2 separate regions of the Homo sapiens genome follow, and region 1 is linked to region 2. Evidence: promoter capture Hi-C in human tissues and cell types (Jung and others, 2019). All regions are on one chromosome and are shown on one strand. Each heading gives the region's core, a stretch centred on a gene start or on the middle of the fragment in contact. The rest is flanking DNA. Distances are from core to core; before and after follow the strand shown.

Region 1 (5,157 bases), core at 1,411-3,910, 120 kb after region 2:
AGCCAGGAATGGAGCTCTATCCTCTGACTCTGAAACCACAGCCTTCACCACGGCAGTCACTCCTTTCCTCAAGAGGAAGCTTCAGCTCATGCTCGCAGATATGGCCTTTGGACTCAACAGGTGCTACTGGCATTGGGCAGTGGGGCTTTCTACCCCCGGTTCTTCCCACTCCAATCCAGGAGACTACTGGCCTTCAAATATGGATTTCATGGTACAGCACTTTAAAGGAACTTTCTAAGACTTCCTTTTTTTTTTTTTTTTTTTTTTTTTAGACACAGTTTTGCTGTTTCCCAGGCTGAAGTGCAGTGGCACCATCTCAGCTCACTGCAACCTCTGCCTCCCCGTTTCAAGTGATTCTCATGTCTCAGCCTCCCAAGTAGCTGGGAATACAGCCACCTGCCACCACGGCCGGCTAATTTTTTGTATTTTTAGTAGAGATGGGGTTTCACCATGTTGGTCAGGCTGGTCTCGAGCTCCTGACCTCAGGTGATCTGCCTGCCTTGGCCTCCCACAGTGCTGGGATTATAGGCGTGAGCCACCGTGCCAGGCCTCGAAGACTCTTTCTAAAGCAAAGCACATGACTTTCCAAGTTTGGAAAATCAAAAGCCCCTAAAGATAGGAAAGATGACAGCTGTACAAGTCCTCATGCCTTCCGTTGCACTCTCACTTCCTCTCTCGGAGTCCTCTCATTTCAATTCCCAATTCCATTACTGCACCAAGATTCTGGGGTTCATGCTCCCCACAGCCCAAGCACAGACAAATTTCAAATCACTGTCTTTTGCTTCCTATATTTCAACTGAGATTGATGGAGATTTTCAGTTTTACTAAACTTAAGCACACCCTTGCTCAAGAACCTGCAGTACCTTTCTGGAGTCTATGGAATCAAGTGCACACTTCTAGCTGCAGTAAGATCTTTTATAATCTGACCTCACTCTAGTTGAACTTAGCTCTCATGCAATGTAAACCTTCCCTAATCAAGCCAGACTTCTCACTGCTTGTGCATACATCTACACACACACACACACACACACAGAGAGAGACTTAAATACATACAGGTTTATTCTCCACAACACGTAAAAATGTTTATTCCTAGCTCCTGTCTCTTTCCAGGGGTCTTACCTGGAATTCTTGTTTCCTGCCCTCTGCCAATCCCAACCTCACCCATCTTTTAAGATTTGTTCATGGGTGAGCGCGGTGGCTCACACCTGTAATCCCAGCACTTTGGGAGGCTGAGGTGGGTGGATTACTTGAGGTCAGGAGTTTGAGACCAGCCTGGCCAACATGGTGAATCCCGTCTCTACTAAAAATACAAAAAGTGGCTGGATGTGGTGGTGTAAGCCTGTAATTCTAGCTACTCAGGAGGCTGAGGCAGGAGAAATGCTTGAACCTGGAGATGGAGGCTGAGGCAGGAGAAATGCTTGAACCTGGAGATGGAGGCTGCAGTGAGCTGAGATCATGCTACTGCACTCCAGCCTGGGTGACAGAGCAAGACTCTGTCTCAAAAAAAAAAAAAAAAAAAGATTTGTTCAGGAAGCCAGGCATGGTGGTTCATGCCTGTAATCCCAGCACTTTGAGAGGCCAAGGTGGGCAGATTGCTTGAGCTCAGGAGTTCAAGACCAGCTTGGGCAACATGGTGAAACCCCTTGTTCTCTACCAAAAATAGAAAAACTAGCCAGGTGTGGTGGCGGGTGCCTGTAGTCCCAGCTACTCAAGAGGCTAAGCAGGAGAATTGCTTGATCCTGGGAGGCAGAGGTTGCAATGAGCCAAGACAGCGCCATTGCACACCAACCTGGGTGACAGTGTGAGACCCTGTTCCCCTCCCCGCCCAAAAAAAAGATTAGTCCGGGAAATCTCTAACTTTAGTGTCTCCAGTCTCTGAACTTCTGCTGCGTTTGTGGCTGATAGGCTGCTTAATGATTAACAACTTTTACAAAAATCTTGGTAAAAATTACATAATATTTACCATCTTTATAATTTTTTATGTGTGCAGTTCAGTAGTGTTTAGTACATTTCGCTTGTTGTGCAACCAATCTCCAGAACCTTTTTTTTTCAAGACGGGGTCTCACTCTGCCTCCCAAAGTGCTGGGATTACAGGCATGAGCCACCGCGTCTGGTCCAGAACTTTTACATTTTGTAAAACTGAAGCTGTATACCCACCCATTGAACAATAACTCATCATTTCCCCCTTCCTCAGCCTCTGGCAACCACCATTCTACTTTCTGTTTGTATGAATTTGACTATTATATAAAATATAAGTAGATTTAAGTGGAATTATACAGTATTTGCCTTTTTGTGACCAGCTTATTTCACTTACTATGCTGTCTTCAGGGTTTATTGAAGTTTTAGCATGTGATGGGATTTCGTTCCTTTTTAAGACTAATATTCCATGTGTAGATATGCTGCATTTTGTTTATCCATTTATCTGCGTGGACATTTGGGTTGCTTCCCCCTCTTGGCTATTGTGAACAGTGCTGCTATGAACAAAGGTATGCAAATCTCTCATCAAGACCCTGCTTTTACTTCTATATCTAGAAGTGGAGTTGCTGGATCATCTGGTAGTTCTGATTTTTTGAGGAACTGCCATATATCAGCTGCACAATTTTACAATCCCACCAACAGTGCACAAGGATTCCACTCTCTCCACATGATCACCAACACTTGTTATTTTCTGTTTATTTTTTCTTTATAGTTGCCATCCTGTTTAAAGACTTTTTCATTGTTTCATGTAAATTCATTTTGTCTTCCTAACAGATTTCATGTGTCTTCAGGGCAGGAATCTTGCCCTGTTCTCCTGTGTACCCTCAGTGCCTAGCACCGCATGAGGCATGTCCTTAGGTGTCTGAAGGTCCTTTTTGGTTGATTGGATGAAATGAACAGTTTGAGTTGAGCTTAGTCCTTTTGAGAACTTAGGGTAGAATTCCCTTTACAAACAGAACAAGCTGACTGCTATGATACAGACTGAATGAATCTTCAGGACACTGCTGCACTGTGGAGCAAAGTCTGCATGGGGACAGTGTCACTGTCGCTTCCTCTTTGACTGAAGATGCAATATTGTGGTCATCACACAAGCTGCTGGGTCTACTCTCCCTGCAAAGCATAATGCTCTGGAAACCCAATTCTATGCAGGTAGAATCAGAAGACCTTAGAAATAAAAACAAAACCAAAAACTGACCTTGAGAAGCTCAGAGGAGGGCCAGTACGGGAACTGAGAGGAAACATCACAGATAGACAGGTACTAGTAGGTACAGCTATTCTCAACTCTGCTTTGTTCTAACCGCTACTTAATTTCCCTTCATTTTCCTGAGGTCTTGGGGAGCCAATTTTTTATTCACTGCTATGACTTTGAGGGTTCCTCTGGGTCTCCAAGCTCTTTTTTTTTTTTTTTTTTGGAGACAGAGTCTCACTATGTCACCCAGGCTAGAGTGCAGTGGCATGCTCTTGGCTCACTGCAACCTCTGCCTCCCGGGTTCAAGCAATTCTTGTGCCTCAGCCTCCTGAGTAGCTGGGACCACAGACGCATGCTACCATGTCCAGCTGATTTTTTTTTTTTTTAAATTTTAGTAGAGACAGGGTTTCACCATGTTGCCCAGGCGGTCTTGAACTCCTGAGCTCATGCAATCCACCTGCCTTGGCCTCCCAAAGTGCTAGGATTACAGTTGAGCCACTGCACCTGGCCTCCAAGCTCTTTTAGTCTATATGGAAAAGTCCCTCCACTTAGCCATTTGTTTGGCATTTAAAAAATAAAACTATCACTAGGAATCTAAAAAAAGAACAAGTACAAAAGTGCTGAAGCAATTAACTTTCTGAGAACAGATTCTCTAGAAAAGTCGCCTCGAGGTGGTTTGGTTGGCACAAGGCTCTCAGGTATACATCCCTTTCCTTGATTCATCCCTGTCTGGGGAATGCTGCCCAAAGACCTGCCTTGTAGTCCCGGGCCATCCCCACCTCTGTGTTCTCCTCCGGCCCCCATCTCAAAGGATGGGGTTGAAGTAGAAGCCCCAGTAGATAGATAGTTTGTAGTTTAGTTGGGTGAAAAAAATAAAACAACACTCCCTAGATATATGATGCATTGGCTGACATTTTCCCCACTTGTTTGGTGATGAGAATCCTCTGGGTCACCTATTAAGGTTCCTTCAGATTCCCTCCTATCAGATTCCTTCACTTGAGGCCAGGAGTTCAAGACCAGCCTGGACAACATAGAGAGACCTCATCTCTACAAAAATTAAAAAAATAACAGGGCATAATGGTGCATACCTGTGGTCCCAGCTACTAGGGAGGCTGAGGTAGGAGGACTGCTTGAGCCAAGGGGTTTAAGGCTGCAGTAAGGTATGATTGCATCACTGCACTCTAGTCTGGGTAACAGACTGACACGCTGTCTCTCTTTAAAAAAAATCAGATTTCTAGGCCCCATCTAAAGAATCAGAATTTACAAATGGGTAACCTGAAAATCTGTACTTCTTCAACTTTCAAGCCAAGTGACTCTTATCATCAGACAAGTGTGGCAAAGATAACATTACTGAATATTTATTATTTCAGATACCTGGGCATCTACTCAACAGGGCTTTTTTTCGTCTTTTTTTTTTTCCCCCTTCAGGGAAGGATAAAGAGACAATGCCATCTTAGTGATGATTATCAACACAGGCTTGGGAGCAGGAAACCTGGGTTTGATTTGCCAGGTATTGGCTGTGTGATCTTGGACAAGTTATTTAACCTCTCAGTGCCTCAGTTTCTTTATCCATAAAGTGGGGATGATATTGCATCTCCTTCACTGAGGATCAAATGAAATAATGCATACAGAACTGTTAGTCCAGTGCCTGCTAAATAAAAGCCATTGTCAATAAATAGATGCTATTGTTATTTCCCCATAGAAGAACCCTAGAGTATCCCCATCATATAAATATGGGTGAATAGTTGTGGAAAAGGAAGACTGGCTATGGGTGGTTCCAGGAGTCCACACAGATATATAAGCACAGCCAGAAGGCCCAGTGATCACTTCTCTGACTAGACCCAGCAGACACAACTGTGGCTGGCTACATTAGACAAATGGAAGAACACTTTAATCAGTCTGGTTCAAGGTGGGCAGGCAGGAATCAAGGCAGACATGACTTGGATGGACAGCTGGAGCTATCCTGGGATGTCACCATGGGTTAGAAGTAG
Region 2 (5,258 bases), core at 2,200-4,699:
ATTATCTATACCTATATCTATATATCTACCTATATAGATAGATATATGTTAGATGCTTCAACAACTAGGGTCTACACTTAATATACTGACATCTAAGGATGCGGCCAAGAAAAGCTGTAATTAGGCTGAATTTTATTGCCAAAGTTGTTCTTTTTTCATTTAGTCCTTTAATAAAAGATGATCTTCATAAATTACAGAAAGTTTGCTTACCCTGTTTGACCTTTTGCAGAAAAGAACAAGAGGGAAGACAGACCTTCAGGCTGGGTGCAGTGGCTCATGCCTGTGATCCCAGCACTTTGGGAGGCCAAGGTAGGAGGATCGCTTGAGCCCAGGGATTCAAGACCAGCTTGGGTAACATGGTAAAACCCCATCTCTACAAAAAACAGAAAAAATTAGCTGGGCATGGTGTGTGTGCCTTGTAGATCCAGCTACTTGGGAGGCTGAAGTGGGAGGATCGCCACTGCACTCCAGAAACTAAAAAAAAAAAAAAAAAAAACCTTCAAAAATATATCTAAGCCAGATGTGATGGCATGGGTCTGCAGTCCCAGCTACTCAGAAGGCTAAGGCAGGAAGATCGCTTGAGCCCAAGAGTTTGAGGCTGTAGTATGCTGTGAGTGCGCCTATGAGTGCCAACTGGGCAACACAGTGAGACCTCTGTCTAAAAAAAAAAAAAAAATCTGTTGGGCTGGGTGAGCTGGCTCACGCCTGTAATCCCAGCACTCTGGGAGGCCAAGGCAGGCAGACCACCTGAAGTCGGGAGTTCAAGACCAGCCTGACCAACATGGAGAAACCTCATCTCTACTAAAAATACAAAATTAGCTGGGCGTGGTGGCGCATGACTATAATCCCAGCTACTCAGGAGGCTGAGGCAGAAGAATCGCTTGAACCCAGGAGGCGGAGGTGGTGGTGAACCAAGATCACGCCATTGCACTCCAGCCTGGACAACAAGAGCAAAACTCCATTTCAAAAAAAAAAAAAAAATCTGTTAAAATTTGATATAGTAGGCACTGACAAAAGAGGTCAAATGCAGGACTGATTTCTAAGCTTGCAATCTATCTAAATGCAGATGCTAATTTAGAGTGCATAATTATTACACAAGTACAGACCTAGGTTAGGGCTTAAATTTCATTATGTGCAATAAAAAGGTTAAGTGATGGTTAAGCAAGGTGTAGATTATCCTTACCTCTCCTAATGACATGGGCTCACATTGGCATTCCTTTCATACTTTTACGTATAAAGTGGGCAGTTGTTTCTGAATGACTGTTGCTGGAGCCTCAGGCCTGCTTTGTGCTTGGTGCTTTCCAGACTTTCTCCTTTATTCCTATCACCATATACGTACTCACAAAAGAGCAGTGTAAACCAGGTATTACATTTCCACAAGGGAAAGTAGAACCAGGAATAGCCACATGATACTTACCGAAAGCTTCACTTTCCCTATAGAGAAAGCAAGCAACATGAATCTTCTGATTTGGGGCCCAGCCTGCTGCTGTATACAGAGGTTGGCATTATTGGTGATAGAAATGTCTGATAGGAGTCTTTTAATTATACTCTGGAGTGTGGAGGTGGAGTGCAAGGCTGCTTCCTTTATTACTGCAAGTGTTATTTTCTATTATCTCAGGTTTCGTTTTGTGTAATAAACTGCTTCTTGTTAAACAATGTCTTCTGCTTCATTATTTTTTTGGGGGTGGGTGTAATAAAGTTGGAGATTTGTAAAAAAGTTTCAGGTTGGGTGTGGTGGCTCATGCCTGTAATCCCTGCACTTTGGGAGGCCAAGGAGGGAAGCTCACGTGAGCCCAGGAGTTCAAGAGTAGTCTGCGCAACATACTGAGACCCCATCTCTACAAAAAATAAAACCAAGCCAGCCGGGTTTGGTGGTGTGAGCCTGTGGTCGCAGCTACTCCAGCAGCTGAGGCAGGAGGATCACTGGAGTGAGGCCAAGGCTGCAGTGAGCTAATATTCCACTGCACTCCAACCTGGGTGACAGAACAAGACCCCAAATCCAAAAATAAATAAATAAATAAAACATTTGCTCATTTAACAAGTATTTATTGGTACTATTCTAGGCACTGGGGATTCAGCAATGAACAAGATAGACAACGTTCCTTCTTTCATGCTTACATTTTTAAATGGGTGTTAGGGATAGGTAAGGCCATAATAAGACAATTCAGACTGTGATAGGTGCTATGGAGAAAACAGGTTGATGGTGGTGAGGTGTGAGAGGTCAGGGAAGCCCTCTGTGACATGAACTGAGACTTAAGGGAAGAAAAATAAGCAGCCATGCAGAAATCAGTGGGAAGATTCCAAACATCTGTGATAAGTGATTTTTTTAACACACTAAATTTACAAATCCAAATGTTCTTCCTCCAAAGTAGTCATGAGCTACAGGCTTGTTTTCTGCTTCCATTACCAAAAACATTTCTTGGAGCTTATTTGGAAATGCTTTGAGAATATGCTGCACATCTTTGGAATGAGTTGTGAAAATGGCCAGAAGAAGTCACTTGAGAAACAAGTCTGGCTGGGCGCGGAGGCTCAGTCATGTAAAGCACTTTGGGAGGGCGAGGCAGGAAGATCGCTTGAACCCAGGAGTTCGAGACCAGCCCGGGCAACATGACAAAACCCCGTCTCTACAAAAAATAATTAGCTGGGCGTGGTGTCTTGCACCTGTGTTCTCAGCTACTCAGGAGGCAGAGGCGGGAGGATCGTTTGAGTTCAGGAGTTTAAAGCTGCAGTGAGCTATGAACGTGCCACTTGCACTCCAGTCTGGGCAACCAAGAGAGACCCTATCTCAAAAAAAATTCTGATTAAGCATCACAACTGAAGGTCCAAGTCTGTAAGACTGGCGAGAGGACTGAAAAAGACGATGAATGCCAAGTGTTTAAGCTTCATCCTACCAACTGAGATTGTTATAAATGAGCAAACGGTATCTAACTAGTAGCAGTAGTAGCAGTTGTTGTTGTTATAAAATGAAACAAGTCTAATTTTTCTTTGCGGCTTTGTAGTGGTCCTATAGGCAGTGAAAAACGACAGTTCTTTCAGGTTTATTAAAGTAAAACACGAATCTTTCCCAACCCAACATCTTAAAGTCTCAAATTTTGATTCGCCACCCCCCCCCCCAACCCCGCCCTATGCCAATCGCCCCTAGACCAAGCCGGCTACCACCAGAACAGTGTCCACTTACCAGGGCCCTTTCCTGCATGTCCCCGGCCCCGTACTGCCCCCAGACTTCGGGGCCCGGAGCCCATCAAGGAGAAGCCTCAGTCGGCGTACGAACCCAGAGTCTCCTCCTAATCTGCTGACAAGTATGAACCCGCCGCTGTTCGAACCCAGCGTCGCCGCAGCCCCGGCCAAGTAAAAGAAAGAGGTGGCTGCCAGCAAGCCAACGAGCCTTCCCCGAGCTCCGCGCCGATTCGTCCAGCCCGTAGGGGTCACGCGAGGTCACGCACGGAACCGCAAAGCCTGCCGGGAGCTTGGTGCGCTATGGCGACACCCAGCCTGCGGGGTCGTCTGGCGCGGTTTGGGAACCCGCGGAAGCCTGTGCTGAAGCCCAATAAACCTCTCATTCTAGCTAACCGCGTCGGGGAGCGGCGCCGGGAGAAGGGCGGTGAGCAGTCGGAGTCAGGACGGCCCCGGAGCGGAAGCCGGAGCATGAGCAGGGGCGGGTGGGTAGGAGGGCAGGAAGGTGGGTCTTCTTGTGACTGAAGGTCCCCCGGATCTGCCCCTCCAGAGGCGACTTGCATCACGGAGATGTCGGTGATGATGGCTTGCTGGAAGCAGAATGAATTCCGCGACGATGCGTGCAGAAAAGAGATCCAGGGCTTCCTCGATTGTGCCGCGAGGGCTCAGGTGACCGATGGCTCCTGGGGTGCTTTCTCAGGAAAAGAATGGGGGAGATAGAAGTAATGATTCTCCCTGCCTTTTGCTAGGAAAGGCCCTTTCATTCATTTGGGAGGTATATTATTCACGCCAAAGTGGGAAAGGTTACAGTTTTGAAGGCTGTGTGATCTTGACGGATTTATTCATTGCTCTGAACTTTCGAGTTACTGTACGTAAAATGAGGCTAACCAATACCACCTTAAAGAATGTTGTGAGTGTCAGATGAAGTAATGAATGGGAAAATCATTTTGAAAAATGTAAATTGCTGCTCAAGTAGACATTATTGTGTGAAATAGAACTAAAGAGACTAAAACTAAATAATGACAATAGTTTGGTTTCCTGTCTAGGCTTAATTGTTAGCTGAGATAGTAGCTTCTGAACATAGTCTCATTTGTAGGTCCCAACGCCCTTTTGTTGAAAAGAGGCTGACATAGATCTCTCCAGGCTGGTTAACATCTTCATGTGCTTTAGGGCATTGTGAGAACTATGGGCCTACATCAGGACAAACTTGATTGATTGATTGGTTTTTTGGGTCAGATCTTAAAAGTCTGGACTAGACAAACTGTAGAGCTGTCATTCTTGTATTTGTTTTGTGTTTTCAGGAAGCCCGAAAGATGAGATCAATACAGGAAACCCTGGGAGAGTCTGGGAGTTTACTTCCAAATAAATTGAATAAGTTGTTACAGAGGTTTCCTAACAAACCTTACCTCAGCTGAAAATGGACAAGTATTTTCAATGACTGAAATATAGCTTCTGACAACTATGCAGAGGCATTTTAGAGACATTGGCATTGCCATGCCCTCTTTGGAGGGTAGAAGAGGCAAAACACTTTTTTCACCCTTTGGAATCATAGTATGGGTAGAAGTTATGATTTATCTTGAAATAAAATCCTCTGAACAGAACTTGGCCTTTTGTTGTGAATTAGGTACTCTCTTCATTCTTGAGCCTCCCCTAGACCCTGGAAATTCTTTCCTTCCTGATTTGCCCTAGGAGCAGGACAAATACCGTTGTATTGTCTTTCCCTGCATTTGAAGTCTTTTACACCATTTAGTGCCCTTGCTTTTGGATGCAATAAGGAAGTTGAAGTTGCCTTCGTCTGTAAATACTTAGTGATTGCCTATTTTGTGCGTAGTCCCTGCAAGGTGCTCTCTGAATAATAAAGTTAACAAACTGGTGACCTAGAGGTTCTGCAGATATGTTTTATTTGATCCACGCAGTTAAAAAAAGTTTTAAAATTAGCTGGTCACGTTCAAAAATAGGAAAAAAAGTCATTAAAATTTCACATTTTAGCTGTATTTATTTATTTGTTTAAGACGCAGTCTCGCTCTGTTGCCCAGGCTGGAGTGCAATGGCACTATCTCAGCTCACTGCAACCTCCGCCTCCA

Evidence for each region. Contacts are between HindIII fragments. The study calls those that stand out against the background at their distance.
Region 1: a fragment that was not itself captured here is called in contact with the fragment with the promoter of CHCHD1 in region 2 in 2 of the 25 tissues and cell types used here (lymphoblastoid cells and stomach).

What each region holds. Positions count from the first base shown.
Region 1 is chr10:73,899,569-73,904,725 of GRCh38, forward strand. No RefSeq gene overlaps it. Among named protein-coding and RNA genes, the nearest start is that of PLAU, 9.0 kb to the right of the region's middle. The HindIII fragment of the contact is 7,043 bases long and covers 1-5,157 here.
Region 2 is chr10:73,778,599-73,783,856 of GRCh38, forward strand. CHCHD1 (coiled-coil-helix-coiled-coil-helix domain containing 1) reads left to right here and starts at 3,450. Exons shown (of 3, transcript NM_203298.3): 1 at 3,450-3,601; 2 at 3,725-3,843; 3 at 4,476-5,054. The coding sequence starts at 3,478. The coding sequence ends at 4,589. LOC107984243 (a long non-coding RNA gene) reads right to left here and starts at 3,355. Exons shown (of 2, transcript XR_001747500.3): 1 at 3,179-3,355; 2 at 2,031-3,004. It also overlaps a transcript of POFUT4 not described here. RefSeq lists enhancers at 3,091-3,400, 3,521-3,660. The HindIII fragment of the contact is 10,203 bases long and covers 2,152-5,258 here.